Linked DNA regions of Homo sapiens: all the other regions are linked to region 3. The links are contacts of gene promoters, found by promoter capture Hi-C in human tissues and cell types (Jung and others, 2019). All regions are on one chromosome and are shown on one strand. The core of a region is centred on a gene start or on the middle of the fragment in contact, and the rest is flanking DNA. Distances in the headings are between cores, read along the strand shown. Region 1 has its middle 11 kb from the start of FKBP9. Region 2 overlaps KBTBD2 (kelch repeat and BTB domain containing 2). Region 3 holds the start of LSM5 (LSM5 homolog, U6 small nuclear RNA and mRNA degradation associated).

The links. The method cuts DNA at HindIII sites, captures the fragments that hold promoters and counts their contacts. A contact is called where the count stands out against the background at its distance.
Region 1: a contact is called between a fragment that was not itself captured here and the fragment with the promoter of LSM5 in region 3, in 1 of the 25 tissues and cell types used here (lymphoblastoid cells).
Region 2: a fragment that was not itself captured here is called in contact with the fragment with the promoter of LSM5 in region 3 in 1 of the 25 tissues and cell types used here (hippocampus).

The regions. Positions count from the first base shown.
Region 1 is chr7:32,944,734-32,948,683 of GRCh38, forward strand. No RefSeq gene overlaps it. Among named protein-coding and RNA genes, the nearest start is that of FKBP9, 11 kb to the right of the region's middle. The HindIII fragment of the contact is 4,202 bases long and covers 150-3,950 here.
Region 2 is chr7:32,885,630-32,889,223 of GRCh38, forward strand. The region is part of intron 1 of KBTBD2 (kelch repeat and BTB domain containing 2); the gene reads right to left. Among named protein-coding and RNA genes, the nearest start is that of KBTBD2, 4.3 kb to the right of the region's middle. RefSeq lists an enhancer at 3,131-3,594. The HindIII fragment of the contact is 4,049 bases long and covers 1-3,507 here.
Region 3 is chr7:32,488,136-32,491,978 of GRCh38, forward strand. It overlaps LSM5 (LSM5 homolog, U6 small nuclear RNA and mRNA degradation associated), which reads right to left and starts at 2,245. Exons shown (of 5, transcript NM_012322.3): 1 at 2,185-2,245; 2 at 1,114-1,209; 3 at 490-517. The coding sequence starts at 2,230. RefSeq lists an enhancer at 2,148-2,197. The HindIII fragment of the contact is 28,883 bases long and covers 1-3,843 here.

The sequences.
Region 1 (3,950 bases), core at 1,001-3,500, 460 kb after region 3:
GCGTCATTGCACTCCAGCCTGAGCAACAAGAGTGAAACTCCATCTAAAAAACAAAAGAAAGAAAGAAAAAAAAGGCAATAACTACAGTTACAAACCATTGTTACAATACTAGGTTTTATAATTACCCGACTATTTATCTTTATTGAGATCCTTATTTCTTCATATAGCTTCTGCTTACTGTCTAGTGTTCTTTTATTTCTTCTTTTTTTAAATTTATTTTTGTCTCATTTTTCCAAGAAAATCTCACTCTGTCACCCAGGTTGGAATGCAGTGGCTCAATCTTGGCTCACTGCAACCTCCGCCCCCAGGGTTCAAGCGATTCTTGTGCCTCAGCCTCCCAAATAGCTGGAATTACAGGCATATGCCACCACGCCCAGCTAATTTTTGTGTTTTTAGTAGAGACGGGGTTTCACCATGTTGGCCAGGCTGTTCTCAAACTCCTGACCTCAAGTGATCCACCTGCCTCGGCCTTCCAAAGTGCTGGGAATACAAGCATGAGCCACGGTGCCTAGCCTAGTGTTCTTTTATTTCAGCCTGTGGAACTCCCTTGAACATTTCTTTCAGGGCTTGTCTAATGGTAATAAACTTCTTTGGCTTTTGTTTATCTTGAAATGTCTCAATTTGTCCCTAATTTTTGAAGGACAGTCTTGCTCGATATAGGACATATGATTGATGGTTTTTCCTTTTAGCAATTTGAATATATTAGCCATGTGCCTTCTGGCCTCTAAAGTCTCTGATGAGAAATCTGCACATAATCTAATTATGGATCCCTTGTCAGATGAGTTGCTTCTCTTGCTGCTTTAAAGATACTCTCTTTGTCTTTGTCTTTCAAAAGTTTGACTATAATGTGTCTTGTTGTGAATCTCTTTGAGTTCATCTTAATTGGAATTTGTTGAACTTCTTGGATTTTTATATTCACGGATTTCATCAAATTTGAGAAGTTTTGGCCATTATTTATTTAAATAGTCTCTGTGCCCCTTTCTATTTCTTTCCTGTTTCCTGGACTCCCACAATGCATAAATTGGTTCACTTGATAATGTCCCATTGGTCCCTTAAGCTCTGTTCACTTTTCCTTCCCTTTTAACTTAATTTTTGTTGTTGTTGTTGTTGTTAGAAATGAAGTCTCACTATGTTGCCCAGGCCGATCCTCAGCAATCCTCCTGCCTCCTGAGTAACTGGAATTACAGTGTATTACAGGGATAGATCATGGCCAATTGCATGGAGATTGTCCATAAGAGCTGGCCAATTTTATGATTATTGGAAGACTTGCATCAGGATAAATAGCTGCTTTTTTTCCCTTTTAGAACATGATTCTTCTTGGATAATACGTTCACATTAATTTTCTATGAAGTGCCACTCTTTCTGAAATTCTTTTGTGATTCTATATACACCAACAGCATTCTCTGTTTTCGCATCTTCTGTGCCATGTTTCTATGTTGTTTGAGGTATACAGAAATCCGTTCCACATGCACTCATATACAGACCACAAATTTAGTGGAGACAGTATCACTGAACAGCAACACCATTGCATAAGTGTCTTCGTTGTTGTTGTTGTAGACAGGGGATCTCACTATGTTGCCCAGACTGGTCTCAAACTCTTGACCTCAGGTGATCCTCCTACCTTGGTCTCCCAAAGCAATGGAATTACATGAGCCACCATGCCTGGTCACATAAGTGTCTTTTTATCCTTCCATACACATAATTATTTTTGAACCAGTGAGAAACTTATCTGGCTTCTTCAGGCAAATGAAGCTTTAATTAAGAAAAAAAAAAAAAACAACTCCTGGAATGTCATCAGCCAGAAGGAATACCAATGCAGGAAAATGATGTGGTTTTGTTGTTGTTGTTTGGTTTTTTGTTGTTATTGTTTGTTTTTTTCTTGAGATGGAGTCTCACTCTGTTGCCCAGGCTGGAGTGCAGTGACATGATCTTGACTCACTGCAATCTCCGCCTCCCAGTTTCAAGCGATTCTCCTGCCTCAGCTGGGATTATAGACATGTACCACCACAACTGGCTAATTTTTGTGTTTTTAGTAGAGACAGGGTTTCACCATGTTGACCAGGCTGATCTTGAACTCCTGATGTCAGGTTATCTGCCCACCTCGGCCTCCCACAGTGCTGGCATCACAGATGTAAGCCACCATGCCTGGCCTTTTTTTTTTTTTTTTTTTTTGAGACAGAGTCTCACTCTGTTGCCCAGGTTGGAGTGCAGTAGCACAATCTCAGCTCACTGCAACCTCTGCCTCCTGGCTTCAAGTGATTCTCATGCCTCAGCCTCCTGAGTAGCTGGTACTACAGGCACACACCACCACTCCTGGCTAATTTTTGTATTTTTAATAGAGATGAGGTTTTGCCATGTTGGCTAGGCTGGTCTCCAACTCCTGACCTCAATTGATCTGCCTACCTCGGCCTCCCAAAGTGCTGGGATTACAGGTGTGAGCCACAGCACCTGGCCCTCTTTTTATATTTTTATATTTTCTATATTTTTTATATTTTTATATTTCTTAAAAAGGTGTTCAGTTAGACAATAATTTTAGCTATGCCAAGGCTGGAGTGCAGAGGCACGATCACAGCTCGTTCCAGCTTTGAATTCCTGGGCTCAAGCAATCCTCCTGCCTCAGCCACCCCAAGTGCTGGGATTATAAGCATGAACCCTTTTATTTAATTCCTTTAGGGTAAAAGAAAAGAAAGAAATTGTCCAGCCATAATCAGTGACCTTAGAGTCAGCAAGCAAGTAGTCTAAAAATGTTAAGATATAATTTTGTGCTGAAACCAATTGAGTCAGGTTTCTCTCACTTGCAATTGAAAGAGTTTTGACTGATTCAAATATTTGCCTTGTTAGATATACAACAACAGTGATTTATTTTCTCACCAAGAAGACCCAGGGATCAATATTTCCACTTAAGCAACTATGCATCAAGGCTCTTTTGAAAATAGCAATGGACCAAAATCCAAATCACGCTGTTTTAAGGAAAAAAAAAAGGAATTTATTGGCTCACATATGTGAAATGTCCACGGGTGAAGCTTCAGGAATGACTGTATCTAGGTGCTGAAATTATACAGTCAGCACTTTCTCCCTCTCTCAGCCTCACCTTCCTTTGTATTGATTTATTCTCATGTAGGTTCTCTCATTGTGGTGGCAAAGATGGACACTAGAAGGCATAGATGGCCACCAATTTAGCAGCCTCCACTGAAAGAAATCTTATTTCCAAAAAACTTAAACTATGCTCATTGACTCAGCAAACATCACGTAGCTCTGAAGGAAAAAAATCACTGTGGTCAGAGAGATGCGGTGCTCTTCATAGCAGCAGTAGGCAGACAAATGCCTAGGCAGATAGGGGCAGGTCCCTGGAGAAACCCCACCTACAAGCTGAAGACAGTGTAAAACCTGAAAGCCAAGCTATAAGTCAAATCTACGGATGAGATTGAGAATCTGTCTTCCCATTTGACATGCTTTCCTCTGATTGATTCTCCACCCTTCACCTATTTTACATATACCTACCCTTTCCTAATTGGTTTTCTACACTGCCATACCCACCTTTGAGGGGTGCTTTTGCTTTAGCCTTTCTTTGCGTACTCACAAACCAATCAGCATGCACTTCCCTATTCTGAGCTCATAAAAGCCCCAGACTCAGCCACACTGAGAGAGAAACCAACCGACGGGGGAGGGGGGTGAGCAGGAGGCCACCTCTGCATCCCCTCTCCGCTGAGAGCTATTCCATTGCTCAATAAAGTTCTTCTCCACCCTCCTCACCCTTCAATTGTCAGTGTATCCTTATTCTTCTTGGACATGGGACAGGAACTTAGGAACCACTGAATGTGTGTACATGCTGTAACACAGGAGAGCTGAGGCACACCTGGCCCAGCCACGGACTGAGCCAATGCACAAGCCAGACTTGGCTCAGGCAGACTGAGTAGGCAGGGCACCTCCTGCAGCAGGTAGCATGCCTG
Region 2 (3,594 bases), core at 233-2,732, 400 kb after region 3:
CTATATTCTAACACTGATCATTAGAATATATTCCATAGTAAAAAATGCTAACCAGCATAAGAATTAAATTGGAGTCATGCAAACACAATATAATGAAATTCACAATCTTAATAAAGTGCAATGTACTTTGACATAAAAAGTGTACATATTCTTACTCCTTCTTTTAAGTCCTGCGCTCAATTCAGTGTTTTTGACTGATTTGCTTGATCGCAGAGAATGGCAAAGATAAGGTTAAAATGTTATACACAGGATGAAATCCTCTCCTCCACTGTCTACACACTTTTTTTTTTTTTTTTAAAGACAGAGTCTCGCTCTGTCGCCCAGGCTGGAGTGCAATGGTGTGATCTAGGCTCACTGCCACCTCCACCACCCGGGTTCAAGCAATTCTCCTGCCTCAGCCTCCTAAATAGCTGGGATTACAGGCACGCACCACCATGTCCGGCTAATTTTTCACATTTTTAGTAGAGATGGGGTTTCACCACGTTGGCCAAGTTGGTCTCAAACTCTTGACCTCAGGTGATCTGCCTGCCTCGGCCTCCCAAAGTGCTAGGATTACAGGCATGAGCCACCACGTCCGGCCTCTACCCACTGACTTTCTACGAATTATTACAGGACAAAGTCCTATTTATTTTTAAATCCGAAGACTACCTACAGAAGTCAAAAATTTATAAACTGATTGAAAACAAATGCTTCTAATACATTTTCTCTAGGATGCCCAAGTCTCCGAGGTTCTGAGTGAATTCCAACACATAAAAGTTTTGAAACATTGTTACTAAATGATTGTCAGGATTAAATCAGTTAGCAATCGACAGTAACATATACAATTCTACTTAAAAATCTGAAACTCTTCCCACAAAATATTATTTCTAGAGATGACTTAAAGTATTGGGAGGATATGCACAGGTTATCGAAAATACTACGGCATTTTATCAGAGACCTGAGTGTCCTTGGATTTTCATATCCCAAGGGGACCTAGGAACTAATCTCCCACTGAAACCAAGAGACAACTGTGTTTCTATGCAACAAATTTAAGTTGGTTGTCTGAATTCCTCACTTAACTTTCCTATAAAATAACAGTATTAAAAAGGTGTTTAACTTCTCACTATAAGCAGCAAAACATGCCTGAAAGTCTATCAGCAAAGAAAATTTACAAAGTAAATACTACTTTAATACTCATAAAGAGATAAGTGACCATGAAATTGTTTTACAGATTCTGATTATTAACATTAAAGGATAAGGAACCAAGATTAAAAGTATGAAATGTTGAAATTTTTAAAAAATCCCAAATACTTTTAAAGATGTCAGAGGTTGATGGCAGTGTTTTGGCTTTTTGGGGGGAGGCAATGAGGGGGGATAGATGTCTAATTTCACTTTGAAATCAAGTTTTCATTCCTAGAGGTGTGTACTTTGTAGCATCCTCCCACTGAGTAGCCTGGAAACACAAATAGAAGCAAAGCAAGCTTTTCCAATGTTAACCAGGCAGAATATAGAGACTGAGGAACGAATAAAGGATTAAAGAACTATTGAATGTGATAAAGAAACCAATCAGCAATTAACTGAGCTGTGGATGAAAAAGGAAGAAAGGATAAAAAGATGGGAAGGAGGCTGCTAGCAAGGCCTGCTACAATAAGCACAGTAGTAGGTACAAAGTTTCCATTGGACAGGAGGAATAAGTGTTACTGATCTGTTACACAGCATGTTGATGATCGCAGTTAACAATAATATACTGTGTATTTCAAAACTGCTAAAGATTCTAAATGTTCTCACCACAAAAAAAATAAGTACATGAGGTGACAGATGTAAATAGCCTGATTTAATCATTCCTCAATGTGTACATAGATTGAAACATCACATTGTAGCCCACAAATACATACAATTATTTGCCAACTAAAAATAAAATAAATTATATAGTAGGAATGAAGGAATGATAGGTCTCCCTCCAGGAGGGGCAGTGCGGCTATAAATCATTCACCTGTAGGAAGCACATTCAAATTGTACATTACTAACTTAGGGAGTGCTGCATCTCCCAATGCTACAAATGTCAATAGAGAAGATTAAAAATTTTTGTTGGAAAAGATCCAAGGCGTTCTCCATGGAGGTCAACCGTTGAAAAATAATTGAGTACAAACCCAAACTACTTGGGTTAAAGCCCCAGTTCTGCAACTTAATAGCTGTGTGGCCCTTTTTAAGTTATTTATTCTCTATGCCTCAGTTTGCTCATCTATAAAATGTAGTTAAAAGTACAACTCTCTTCTCAATGAATTGTTCTAGGATTACATTTCATACTTGGTTCAGTACCTGACACACAGCACTACACAGATATTCGAAATTATTTTTATTAACCCACCCACTGGTGAAGCTTTTGCAGCACTTTCCCAACTCCTGGATTCCACACCTTCACCAGGTCCGAAGATTCCAATTTCAAGGTCTCAGCACTCCAAATACAGTTCTCTTTTTTCATTCTGTCTAAATGGTATTTTACATAAGAGAAATCCAATGTTTTCAGAGAATATTGGGACTTTTTTGCAAACATTTGACACTTGAAATCTGAATTCAGTGTTCTAAAATATTAAGATAATTTTTCCTTTTTTTTTCCTTTTCTCACATATTTTGATGGTACAAATAATGAAACAAACTAGTGCTTAAAAGACGACCAATCTTGAGGAGGCTGATGTCAGTGTAAAAAACTAAATGAGAGTCCAGAAAGGCACCAGTCATAAAACAAGCCTTTCTTTATTTCAATGAGATAGTTTTCTCCTTAGGAAGGACAAGAGATGGGTGCTAGAAACAGTTTGCTTTCAAGTTATCAAAACAACCACGACAGTTGAGAATGTCTGGAAAAGACCATTTGTTTTTTAGATTGTCAACTGCTACACAAACAGAATTTTCTGGAGTTGTGACAGGCATCAATTAAAAAACAAACCAAAAAAAAACAAAAAAACCAAAAAAACAAACACCTGGCCTTTTGAAGAATCTATCAAGTTTTAAAAATTTCAGCATACTTGCAGTGAGCCGAGATCGCATCACTGCACTCCAGCCTGGGCGACACAGCGAGACTCCGTCCCAAAAAAAAAAAAAAAAAAATTTCAGCATAGCTTCCTCTGCTCTAGTCACATTCAGAGCTTAGGTCTGTTCTCTCTTTCCAACCATACTGATAGATGACATGGCTCCATCAGGTTAATTACGCTCAGCACCCTAAGTAAATTCAGGTCACAAGTACAAGCTGTACTATATTATGATTAACAAGTTATCTCAGTTTTAAAAAATTAAACAAGAACATAAAGGCAATGCCACCTGCGATACAATAATCATATGAGTATACTATGTCCTTTTATTTTGGGTATCACTTTTCCTTTTTCCTCTCACCTCTGCGCAGTGACTTAAGAAAGCTGGGGAAAAGTGGCCAGGCGCAATGGCTCACACCAGTAAATCCCAGCACTTTGGGAGGCCGAGGCGGGCAGATCACCAGGTCAGGAGATCGAGACCATCCTGGCTAACACGGTGAAACCCCATCTCTACTAAAAATACAAAAATTAGCCCAGCGTGGGCTACTCAGGAAGCTGAGGCAGGAGAATGGCGTGAACCCGGGAGGCG
Region 3 (3,843 bases), core at 995-3,494:
CTGGGCTCAAGGGATCCTCACCCTCCAGAGCAGCTAGGACTACAGCTGCCCCCTACTATAACCAGCTAATTTTTAAATTTTTTATAGAGACAGGGGTCTCCCTTTGTTGCCCAGGCTGGTCTCAAACTCCCAGGCTTAATCCTCCTCCTTTGGCCTTCCAAAGTGCTAGGATTACAGGAATGAGCCACCATGTCCAGCCTAAATGCTCTTACTATCAGTTCCTTTATTTGACCTGAACCCTAAAATTCCTGGCTCTTTTTGTTATCTTCTACCTTAAAACTGTGTCTCCACTAATATTCTAGGCGTTTACTAATAATTACATTAAGGTAATAACACTCTGATCCAATTTTACAAGCAAACAGATAAAACGTCTATCTTTAACGTTATTCCACCAAGAGGTAATGTTTTCTCATAAATAATTTTACTCAAAAGTAGTAAAACTGTCTTTAATTAAGAAGAGATTCCCCCCAATTCTTTAACACTACTCACAACTCAGTGACATCTTCCAGTACCATATCTGAAATTTGGTGTTAAGAAAATAAATACAGAATTTACTCTAGCTTCTGCCTTTGTTCAGCTTTTGTTTTTTGTTTTTGTTTTTGTTTTGAGACAAAGTCTCGCTCTGTCATCCAGGCTTAAGTGCAGTGGTACAATCACACCTCACTGCAGCCTCCACCTTTTAGGCTTAAAGGATCCTCCTGCCTTAGCCCCGGAGATTAGCTGGACCCACAGGTGTACATCACCATGCCCAGCTAATTTTTGTAATTTTTGTGGAGACAGGGTTTCATCATCTTGCCCAGGCTGGTCTCAAACTCCTGGGCTCAAGCGATCCACCCACCTCGCCCTCCCAAAGCGCTGGGATTATAGGCGTGAGCCACTGGGCTCGCCTGTTCAGTTTTAATTACAATGTTTAATACAATGGCTCAAATTCAAAATGCTTGTTGTTGATAGGAACTTTACCGTCTTTCAATACATACCTCTTAAAACATTATCATAAGTTCCCTGAGAATGAACTGATTTTTATTATAATAATCACAAATATACTGATTGTCTATAGTTCTTATGTTATTACTTAAGAAAAACCTATACCACCACCACCTTTTAAAAGGATACTGACAAAGTCATCAAATCCTAGAAGAGTACCAACAATTTCCTTATCACTCTTCATCACGATGTGAATTCTTGATCCTATACATTTGTCCACAAGCTCTGAGGAGGGAAAAAATATTATTTTACCATTCATTATTTCAACAAATATTTGAGTGCCTACTGGCACTCTTACTTGCATATAGTGAAAGAAAAACCAGGAAAAACATTCATTCAATAACTTTAGGTCTTATAATACAAATCTCAGTTCAAGCACAGCATCTGGCACATAATGAGCCTTCCAAAAGAGTCTGTGGCATGAAGGAATGAAAACTTTTCAATCACGGCCACGACCACTAGTTCAATCACTCTTCACCAACTACAAAAATATAAGAGGAGATAGGTATAATTATATTCACCGGAAACTCTCCGGTCACTGCTTCCCTTTCCCAACTCTGTCTATCCTCTGTGCTCTGACGGTAGCTTGAACATCTCTTTAGCTAGCCTAGCATTATGTGGCATGATGTCTACTTGTCCAGTGTTCTCTCCTCCACTGGCTTGTGTGCTATTTGAAGGCAATGGCTATGGTTTATCATTGAAAAATGCCCAGGCACGGTATCTAGTGTATAGATACTCAGTTACTACTTATTGAATGAATAAATAACAAACAGAGCTGGTTTCCAGATTCCTCATTTAAGGCTCATTCCGGACCAGGGTGTTAGTGTCACTAACCAACCACATACATAACATGGTCTATCTAATCTGGGGATCGTAAACGCCAGGCTGAGAAGTAGGCCTACTACCTATAACACTGCAGAGGCGGGCTCACAACAAAGTAGGCCGACGACGCGTTCACTAAATGTGGACCTTTTCCAGTGAAGGTCTGGTTTGAGAAGTCAAAGTCCTTGCCTGGAGGAGCCCGACCACGTTAAAGAGCAGGTGCGGCCTGCTGTCGCGAAGACTTGGAGCTCAGAGTCGAACCGCATTTGGTCTTATACATTTCCCCACACTCGGCCAGGGCCTGCCTCGGAACAGCCCCTCGGCCCCCAATCCTGAATGTCAGCTCCCTGTTCCTGCTCCCCAAAGGACGGCGATTACCTAAGGGCAGCAGCTGCGACGGGTTGGTAGTAGCGTTAGCCGCCATGGCTACGCCGGAAGTGGCCTGCCTTCATTGATGGTGGGACGACTTTGAAAAGCGCGCTTCCGCTTTTTCCGCAGCCCAAACAGGCTCGACCAATCTGAGGCCGAGCGCACGATCTAGTCAGCTGCGTGGGTCGCGTTCACTGGCTTTTTTCCCCGGCAAGTGAGATCCGGTGAAATATTTCCTGCCCACTGGACATTTTACCATCTCGGCAGATACCCATAATGCCCTTGAAGTTTTGGAGAGACGTTGAAGATATTTTGCCTTGTGAATAAATTGTTCCTGTAACGTTTGAGTCTTCTTCCCCCGTAAAGTTGCATTTCCTCTCAAGCCAGAATCTTCAAACCAGTATAAATCAATTCGTATTTCCTGCCATCAATTAACTGTTACAATTTTCGTTACAACTACTCATTAAGGAATCTATTGTTTCTTTTTAAAGTCCAGTGGATTGAAAATCTGCAACTAGCATTTTTTAAAATTTTTCTTTAGTGAGGATTTAAGATATGTTTTTTAAACTTTTTACTACTTTAATTCATCGTTCTTATCTTTTTATGTCTGGTAGTCTTATTTATTATAGGCTTTTAAATTCAGTTTCTTCAACAATTCTTGTCTCACAGGCAACCACCAGATGTCACTCTAAATTATTCCAGAAGTGTAAAATCATGCTTTCCACTTCTGTGTTGAAAACAGCAAAGTATCGGCCCTAGTCTGTTTTATATTTGTATCCTAGGAACTTAAACCTGAACAGTCTAGGTCAGGCGCAGTGGTAACGACTGTAATCCCAGCACTTTGGAAGGCCGAGGCGGGCGGATCACCTGAGGTCAGGAGTTCGAGACCAGCCTGGCCAACATGGGTGAAACCCCGTCTCTACTAAAAATACAAAAATTAGCTGGGCGTGGTGGCGTGCGCCTGTAGTCCCAGCTACTCGGGAGGCAGAGGCAGGAGAACTGCTTGAACCCGAGAGGCAGCGGTTGCAGTGAGCCTAGATCATGCAACTGCACTCCAGCCTGAACAACAAGAGCGAAACTCCATCTCAAAAAAAAAAAAAAAAAAAGCTAAACAATAAACATGAGCGGCCACAAAGAACGTCATTCATTCATACAACAAATGGTCATTAAGCACCCATCATTCCTTCATAGACTGAGTTCCTCAAGGCTGAGAATTATGGGAAGCAGTAGTTTACGTGATTAAATTTCTTCATTTTGAATTAAATGACTTTGGTTCAAATTCCATGGTCAGTTATTTGACAATGGGCAAGTTATTTTAACTTTTTAAGTCTCAATATACCCATTGGAAAAAATGGGGACAACAGTATCTACTCATAAGATTAATGTGAAGATTAATTGAGATAATCTATGAAAAGTGGTCAGCATAGGACCTGGCACATAGCCCTTTTAAACATGAGCTGTTATTACTTATCCTTGTTTTCTAATACATGATGTCTGGCTCAGAGTGAAGCTACATAAAGCTAGCATTGCTAGCTGGTTTTGCATTCATCTTATTTTTATAACCAGACATAAGCCACTTTAAGGAAGCAATTTCTTATTTTATACACTGTGCACACTACATTTTCAGGCACACTGTAGGGCGCCTAATGAATATTCTTTAAATTGATT